2 separate regions of the Homo sapiens genome follow, and region 1 is linked to region 2. The links are contacts of gene promoters, found by promoter capture Hi-C in human tissues and cell types (Jung and others, 2019). All regions are on one chromosome and are shown on one strand. Each heading gives the region's core, a stretch centred on a gene start or on the middle of the fragment in contact. The rest is flanking DNA. Distances are from core to core; before and after follow the strand shown.

Region 1 (4,493 bases), core at 779-3,278, 58 kb before region 2:
GGCAGGAGAATCGCTTGAACCCGGGGGGCAGAGGTTGCAGGGAGCTGAGATCGCACCATTGCATTCCAGCCTGGTCAAAGAAGCGAGACTCTGTCTCAAAAAAAAAAAAAAAAAAAAAAAGAATGAAAAAAGGAAAAAAATTCAAGATGACAAAACTTTAGATTAACATTCAAAACTTCTTGGCAGTCTACTTTCTCCATTTAGGTGTACTTTCCCACTGAGTTAGACAGGCATCTCATATCTCATACTTCGTCTTCTGTTATCAGAACTTTATGCTCCTCTTCAACTCTCATTCTTAGCCAAAAACCTAACCTGCTCTTTGCATCAAATCTACATTTGTGCCCATCTTTTCTTATCTCAGGTTACAATTGAGAAAGTGTCCCTTTTCTTCTCAAAGGCCCATTCTATCAATATGATTTGGTTACCATCTCCTGCCACCTTCTCAAGGACTCTACTCCTTCCATTTTCTCTTGTACCTCTCTATGAGATTATCCTCATCAGTATACAAATATGTCTAGTGTCTCCTCCATTAGGAAAAAACCTTCCCTGGACCCCTTCAGTTTCTTTTTCCTTTACTTATGCTCCTATTGGTGGGAAGATTTGGAAATAGACACAGTAGGTTAAATAATTGCCCAATACATTGTATTTAAGTAGCAAATACTGGACTCAAACCAGACTTCAGAGATGATGTTCTTAAAACTTCATAAGAGGCCAGCATGGTGTTTCATGCCTGTAATCCCAGTACTTTGGGAAGCCAAAGTGGGAGGATTGCTTGAGACCAGGAATTTGAGACCAGCCTGGGCAACATAGTGAGACCCTGTTTCTGAGATGCCATTTCTAAAAACAAACAAACAAAAACAGACAATTAAAAATATTAGCCCAGCATGATGATGTGTACCTGTGGTCCTAGCTACTCAGGAGGCTGAGGTGGTAGAATCTCTTGAGCCCAAGAGGTCGAGGCTCCAGTGACTGGGATCGTGCCACTGCATGTTTTCTGCTGTATTGCTAGTGCCTAAGGCAGTGTTTGGCTCTCAGTAAACAATAAATGCTTGAATGAGTGGAGATAATAGATGTCCAAAAACATGCCTGATATATAAAATGAATGTCACAGAGGAAATGGGTTAGCTGTTTAAGGAATAGAAAGGGGTAATTTCACCCTAGAGTGATCATGGAATACTTTATGGAGAAAAGATTTTGGACCAGACTTCTGAAGAATGCTAAATTTGGGAAGGAAGGAAATTAAAAGCATTTAACTGTATAGAATGGGATGAACAGAGGATGGGAAGGCATAAGTTAGAAGGAAAAGACAATAAATAAGCAAGGTCATTTAACTGGTTTAGAGTTTGTGTAGAAAAGTTGTAGGAGATGACCCTTAAAAAGATACATCAAACTGGGCATGATAGCTCACACCTGTAATCCCAGCACTTTGGGAGGCCACGGTGGGTGGATCGCTTGAGCTCAGGAGTTTGAGACCAGCCTGGGCAACATGGCAAGACCCTATCTCTACAAATAATATAAAAATTAGCCAGACGTGGGCTGTGCCTGTAGTGGCAGCTACTTGGGAGGTGGAGGCGGGAGAATCGCTTGAGCCCAGGAGGCCAAGGTTGCCATGAGCCAAGATTGTACCACTGCTCTCCAGCCTGGGCAACAGAGCAAGATTTTGTCTCCATCTCAAAAAAAAAAAAAAAATTAAGATCCTATTTCAGAAGGTTAAGAAGTTTAAACTTGATTTTATGAAGAGTAAGCATTAGCTGGTCAGGAAACTAAGATAGTGACAATAAAGAGAAGTAGGGAAAAGATGTTGTAAAGGGCAGCGCTTGATGACTGACAATAAAAAATACACCTCAGCCCAACAATGTATTACAGTAACTTAGTAAACCTAAAAAGTGTTTGAGAGGGGAAGACAGTTTTGTTGGAAACATGAGTACAGGTTTAGAGATGACAGGTTTGAGGTGACAAACCCCGAGTGAAAATTTCTAGCTGTATTGAGAGATGTGGAACTAAGTCACACAGAGAAGTAAAAATGGAATCTGGAAACGAAAGATCCATGAGAAAGGAAGGGAGTAGGATATAGAAGAGAAAGCTAACAAACTTTCATCTTTTCTGCAACTTCAGGCAGTGTAATGGGGAGCCGTTTTTCCTTGTCTAAGTGAGTCTTAATGTTCTCTGGCTTTAAGGATGTGCTGCATAAGTGGCCAGTCCACAAAGTATCCTTGAACCTGGCCCATGCCCATGGACCAACTCTTCTGTTATAATCTTTTGAAGCTTTATTATAATTTTAGTTATTTTGAAAAACATGGCATTATTTTAATCTAGATAGATTATACCCACTTCTGCCATGGGCACAACTTACTGTTGGAGATCAAAACAACTGAAACAAAATCTGCCTTATATCAGTGTTACAGAAGAGGCTTCCTAGTGTTTTTCTATCCTCGGGACTCAACTCTGTTGAGTTTTTTTTTCTTTTCTTTTCTTTTTTTTTTTTTTTTTTTGAGAAAGAGTCTTGCTCTGTTGCCCAGGCTGTAGTGCAGTGGTGTGATCTTGGCTTGCTGCAACCTCTGCCTCCCAGGTTCAAGCCATTCTCCTGCCTCAGCCTCCCGAATAGCTGGGATTACAGGCATGACGGCCACCACGTCCAGCTAATTTTTGTATTTTTAGTAGAGACGAGGTTTCACCATGTTGGCCAGGCTGGTCTCAAACTCCTGACCTCAAGTTAATCTGCCCGCCTTGGCCTCCCAAAGTGCTGGGATTACAGGAGTGAGCCACCGTGCCTGGCCCAAGTTTATTTAAATTTAACATCAAGTAACCTAGCTTGATAGCCTCCCATTTTTCTTATTTTCCTTTTTTTTTTTTTTTTTATTTGAGACGGAGTCTCTGTCGCCTAGGCAGGAGTGCAGTGGCGCAATCTTGGCTCACTGCAACCTCCATCTCCTGGGTTCAAGCAGTTCTCCAGCCTCAGCCTCCCAAACTGGGATTACAGGTGCCTGCCACCCAACACAGCTAATTTTTTGTATTTTTAGTAGAGACAAGGTCTTGCTGTGTTGGCCAGGCTGGTCTTGAACTCCTGACCTCAGGTGATCCACCCGCCTCAGCCTCCCAAAGTGCTGGGATTACAGGTGTGAGCCACCATGCCCGGCTTTTTGTTGTCATTTTAATTGTTTATTGCTCCACTGATATTTTCTTTGCAGACCAAAATGTTACAATTTTTTTTTTTTTTTTTGAGGCGGAGTCTCATTCTGTCGCCTGGGCTGGAGTGCAGTGGTGCCATCTCTGCTCACTGCAAGCTCCGCCTCCTGGGTTCACGCCATTTTCCTGCCTCAGCCTCCCGAGTAGCTGGGACTACAGGCGCCCGCCACCACGCCTGGCTAATTTTTTGTATTTTTAGTAGAGACAGGTTTTCACCGTATTAGCCAGGATGGTCTCGATCTCCTGACCTTGTGATCCGCCCACCTTGGTCTCTCAAAATGCTGGGATTACAGGTGTGAGCCACCGTGCCTGGCTGGCTGCCATATGTCTTATGAGACAGCCAAGCTAGCATGTCAGTATCGAGTAGACCTAATCCATTGTTAACTCTCCTCAGAAATAAATTCTTTTTTTTTTTTTTTTTTGAGATTGGGTCTCACTATGTTGCACCGGCTGTTCTTGAACTCCTGAGCGCAAGCAATCCTCCAACCTCAGCCTCCCACATAGCTGGGATTACAGGTGAATGCCTCTGCACCCAGATCCTCATAATCATTAGGAAGAAAGAGCTGAGGGGGAGGGGTGGAGGAGGATGCTTAGGAGACCTTTTATGATAATAAGGGAGGAAACATTGAGAAGAGGAAGAGTAAGTTATAGAAGCTATAGCTATTGCGTGAGCTCCATTAGAAATTTGATAGCTAAAGGGAATTAGGGCTGTTTAAAATGTCACTCTTACATCCGTCATTTGACATGATATGTGACCTTTTTAAATAGAAATGTTTTCCCATGTTTTGACAGGGACTTATGTAGAATAAGTATTTAGACTACAGTACATAATATCTATAGTTGCCATGGCAACTCAGCATAGCATGCTGACACTCCAAAGTTGTACAAATAGAATCCTAATCTGAGAATGTTTAAGTAGTCAGATAATGTCTGTCAACAATAAACTAAAGCAAAATTCTCAAGTAAATATAGCCTGTTAAAATAACATTTACAGATGGCTGAACAACTATATAGATCGTTGACTTTTTTTAAAGAAAAAGAATGCTAATTAATTAATAATAGAAAAGATTACATTTCATCAGCCTAAGAGCTGGAACCAGGGATATAGAGAGGATGTTAGACTATTACTTAAATCTAAATATTATCTACTCTCATTTGTTTTCTCAATTTAATGAAGTAAAACCCCATTATATGTTAGGTCTCTCTCTAATAGAAAAGTCATAAAGTTGAGAGCTACAGTTAGGTTACAAAATGAATTAGCCCATGCTTGTTCAAAGTACTGCAGTAGTTTTAAAATTCTGGGCCGG
Region 2 (4,255 bases), core at 281-2,780:
GGGAAGTTGTCTGAGGAGCAGGGATGCACTTGGCTCTGCTGGGCACTGACCCTGGCACTCTCTATGCCCGGTGCCCTGTGGTCTGGCTCTTGCTGAGGATGCAGAAGGGAGCCCTACCCGAGGCAGCCCGGAATGCCCCACCCTCGAAGGGGAAAAAGGCAAGCATGAGGCCAGCGTGCCTCTAAAACTACACACCAGGGCTCCTGGAGGGCAGGGCCCATAATCAAAAGAATAATAAACAACCATCTGAATGGGCCAAGGCTGTAGGGTGGAGAAGCAGCTCTACAGCGGGACCTAAGCTGCCAACCCACGCCCTGATAAGGTCTGCGGTGGGAATTAAACCTTTTCCTCCCTCGGTGCCGCTTAGGCTGTGTGATGATCATGTGGTCCCAACAGCTTCTCAGAGAAGTGTGAAGCACACCTGAGTTGGCACAGAAGTGAGCTAGGCCAGGGATTGCAAGATGCGGTGGCCTGCCCGTAGCAGAGAGCTGTGGGGCCCTGATCCGCGGTACCCCGCATGGGGACGCTGTCACAGAGCAAGGCAGGAGGAAAATGTGGTGGTCAGTGACCCGGGGAATAGGAAGGGAGCAGCTAGGGTTGAGATGCCAGGCCCTGGCCAGCAGGTTTGGAGTAAGGGGTGTAGAGAAACAGGAAGTGTTACTCAGCCTGGGTTCCCCTGTTCCTCCCGATGGCTGCACCCCTCCCCTCTCCCCGGCTGCAGCAGTCCCAGCTAGGCCGGACTGCTAAGCCTGGCCCAGAGCACGGCTGACAATTCACGGCAGCCTCCCTGGCCCAGCCTCCTGCAAGAGAAGGAGGACCCCAGAGGAAGCCCGGTAGCCAGAGGGGAAGGGCTGGAGCACAGCCAGGTAGGAGGCAACACGGCCCGGCCTTCAGCAGCCGCTCTCCTGGCAGGAGCCCTCTAGGGTAAAACAAGGGAGGACAAGGAAATAGCAGCCAGGCTGATGGCAGGCCAAGAGGAGGCCACATCTCCCATCCCCAGGTTAATGCTGCTCTGCCAAGAAAACTTGGAGCCACCCTTGGCGGGCCCCCAGCCCAACCCTGGGCAGCAGAGCCCGCCCATCACAGGCATGGCGCTGCTCCCCATTAACACACCCTCTGCCCCCCTTCCTGTTCCTGCTCGTGAGGGCCTGACAGCGGGGCTGAGTCACCCATACCAGCTACAGGTCTCTTCCTTCCCCAACAATCGTTCCACACGCCTGCCTTTCAATTAACTCCCACCCGCCCCGAACTCTTCCTACCCAGACACTGTGGGCAGGGAGCCAGGCGCACCTGCTGGGGGCCCAGGGTGGTGGGGCTGTGATCAGAAAGGAAGCCGCGTGGTGACACATAAAGCAGGGCTGCCCCCACACGAGTCCCCAGAGGAATCTTAAGCTCCCCATTGCCCTGGGGTGTTGGTCCCAGCTGCCCCATCCCTGCACGCGGATGCTGCAATTACCCAAGAGCACGAAACCTGGCTTCCCACCTGACTGAGTCAGCTGAGAACAAAAACACATCTCCACCGCCACAAACAGCCAGGCCACTCATCAGAGTCCGGGAGCCACTGGCAGAGAGGGCACGGCCCCACACTGCCCCAGAGACATATAGGAGCCAGGCAAACACCAGGGCGAGTGAGCTCGGGCCATCTGCTGCCTGCCTGTGGAAGGAGCGCTCGCCAGCCTCACCCAGCCCGAGAAGGTCCACCTCTGCCTCCGCCGGAGCTGCCCTCATTCTGGCTCCAGTAAGTGCTGCTTCTTCCTCCTGGGTTTTTTTCCACTACCCTATTCAGTAACCAGGCCACTCCTGTCCCTGTGGGAAACTCTTGCTGCCAGGAACTCCCAGCTGTCTGCTCTCCTGGGCAAAAAAGTTCCTTCTTCCTGAGCCCTCCTCTCACCATCCAAGATGTGGTCAAAGGTCTGTGCTGAGTGGAAACCCTGAGGCCTCTGCTCCTAGGGGAGCCTCCCCAGCTGCTGGCACTCACTGCCCCAGCAGGGACCACATGCACCCTGGCTGCTCCTGAACACCTGTCTGCTGGCTCCCCTGGGCCCCATGGAGACCTGGCGGAAAGGCTCCTTCCGCAACGCCTCCTTCTTCAAGCAGCTGAGCCTGGGGCGGCCACGGCGGCTCCGGCGACAGAGTAGTGTGCTTAGCCAGGCCAGCACAGCAGGTGGGGACCACGAGGAGTACAGCAACCGAGAAGTCATCCGGGAGCTACAAGGGAGGCCAGATGGCCGGCGCCTGCCACTGTGGGGGGACGAGCAGCCCCGGGCCACCCTGCTGGCCCCACCCAAGCCCCCACGCCTCTACCGAGAGAGCTCAAGCTGCCCCAACATCCTGGAGCCCCCACCTGCCTACACAGCAGCCTACTCTGCCACCCTGCCATCGGCGCTCTCTCTGTCGAGTGCCCTCCACCAGCACTCAGAGAAGGGCCTTGTGGACACTCCCTGCTTCCAGAGGACACCTACCCCAGACCTCAGTGATCCCTTCCTCTCCTTCAAAGTGGACCTGGGGATTTCACTTCTTGAGGAAGTTCTGCAGATGCTAAGGGAGCAGTTTCCTAGCGAGCCCAGCTTCTAAATGGGGTGAGGGTGGGCAAAGCCGGGGTGACTGGAAGATCCAGAGGCTGGGGATTAAGGAAAGGACAGGGACAGGACTCCAGGCCCATCGCTGGAGGGTTCAGGCAGGCAGAGCTTCTTCATCCTGGGGGAGGATTCCAGGATAGGAATCCAGGGCTCTGCCTGCTCTCTGGGTCCTGGACAGTCCTTCCAGGCACCCCAGAGTGGAGGGACAGAGGCAATCTGGAAATGTTGGGGGGGCGGCCCTTCCTGGCAGGACCCTGAAGAAAGCTGGCTATGCCGGGAAAGGGAGGCTGTGCCGGGAAAGGGAGGCTCTGTGCGGCACTACAGGAACCAGGTAGAGGCTGGCAGAGCCAGAAGGTGGCACGGGGTCAGATCAGGGAGTGGGAGGACACAGACTGAGCAGAAGAGATGAGTGCCCCATGCCAGCCTCTTTGGAAGCCACTGTCAACAGAGAGAGGTCACAGGACAAGCTTGGGTAAAGGCAGTCCAACCCAGGCAGAAGAGGAAAGTGGGAAGGCCCAGGAAGAAAGGGGAGAAGGCCTGACCCTGTCTAATCTGGTGGCCACTCACTGCATGACACTGAATTGAAATAAATAAAATTAACAGTTCAGTTCCTCAGCTGCACCGTTATTCCAGATTCCACATTCCAAATGCCCGGTGGCCACACATGATTAATGGCTACCACACTGGTCAGTGCAGAATGGACGTAAACATCGCTGCACAAAGTTCTAATGGACAGCGCTGTCTAGACCATGGCCTGGAGCCACCAGCAAAGGGGAGGCGCATACAGGGGCTGGCCACATAGGAAGAGATAGGTAGAGATAGAGTATAACTCAGGAAAAAGACCAGGCAAATCCTTAGCAGAAATGAGGACGTGGCTCAGTCTGCCAACACAGCTACCCGGAGCAATCCCTGGTGAAGGAAGGCAGCTCTAGAGAATGCCAGCCACAGGCACGCGCACGGCTTGCAAAGGGGTACTTTGGGGAATTCCCAGAATTACTAGTGATGGGAGCCCTGGCAGGTTTCCTTCCTCGAAGAGAGGAGAACTGGATCCAGGGATGGGCATTCAACAGCGAAGCGGCACAGCTGGTTTCCAGAACCGTCTCCCGGGATTAGACAGTTCTGCCGCCTGAACCCTCCGACGATGGGCCTGCCAACCAGGCCAAGCCCACTGGGTCAAAGCCACAGGCTGTGCTACGGCCCCACCCCATGGCCTCACCAGAACACAGAAACCAGAGCCCAGCAGCACTGGCTGGGCCATGTGTTGGTGGCCCCCCGGGACTCGCTAAGAGTAGCAAAGGGGAGAGGGAAGCTCTGACACACACCATTTCTACGACCTAAATCAGTGGCCTCCCTCTTTCCTCCTCTTGTGTATAGGTACCGAGCTGTGGATACAGGAGAGAATGAATAAAATTCTAACACAATCTATGGAGTGTTATCTGGGGCTGTGAAATGCTGGGACTTGAAGGTGGGAATGAGGTCTCTAAAGCAGGGCCCTGAGTCAGGCCCAGGCCAGTTTGTTTCCCTCCATCCAGGATCTGGGACACACTTGCAGAAAGCTGCTTTCCAGTCACCCCAGTCAAGTGGAGGGGCAGGCAACGGAGCAGGCTGGCGTGGGTAAAGTAATGAGAGCAGCCTCCTGCCAGCCTGCTGAGGGGCTGTGGACACACCAGACAGGC

The links. Contacts are between HindIII fragments. The study calls those that stand out against the background at their distance.
Region 1: a contact is called between a fragment that was not itself captured here and the fragment with the promoter of C15orf62 in region 2, in 2 of the 25 tissues and cell types used here (lymphoblastoid cells and spleen).

Annotation. Positions count from the first base shown.
Region 1 is chr15:40,710,405-40,714,897 of GRCh38, forward strand. The region is part of intron 5 of RAD51 (RAD51 recombinase); the gene reads left to right. Among named protein-coding and RNA genes, the nearest start is that of RAD51, 17 kb to the left of the region's middle. The HindIII fragment of the contact is 9,054 bases long and covers 1-4,493 here.
Region 2 is chr15:40,768,450-40,772,704 of GRCh38, forward strand. C15orf62 (chromosome 15 open reading frame 62) reads left to right here and starts at 1,531. Exons shown (of 1, transcript NM_001130448.3): 1 at 1,531-4,000. The coding sequence starts at 2,047. The coding sequence ends at 2,574. All of the region lies in intron 10 of DNAJC17 (DnaJ heat shock protein family (Hsp40) member C17), which reads right to left. RefSeq lists enhancers at 192-810, 1,429-2,047, 2,001-2,090, 2,048-2,664. The HindIII fragment of the contact is 9,899 bases long and covers 1-4,255 here.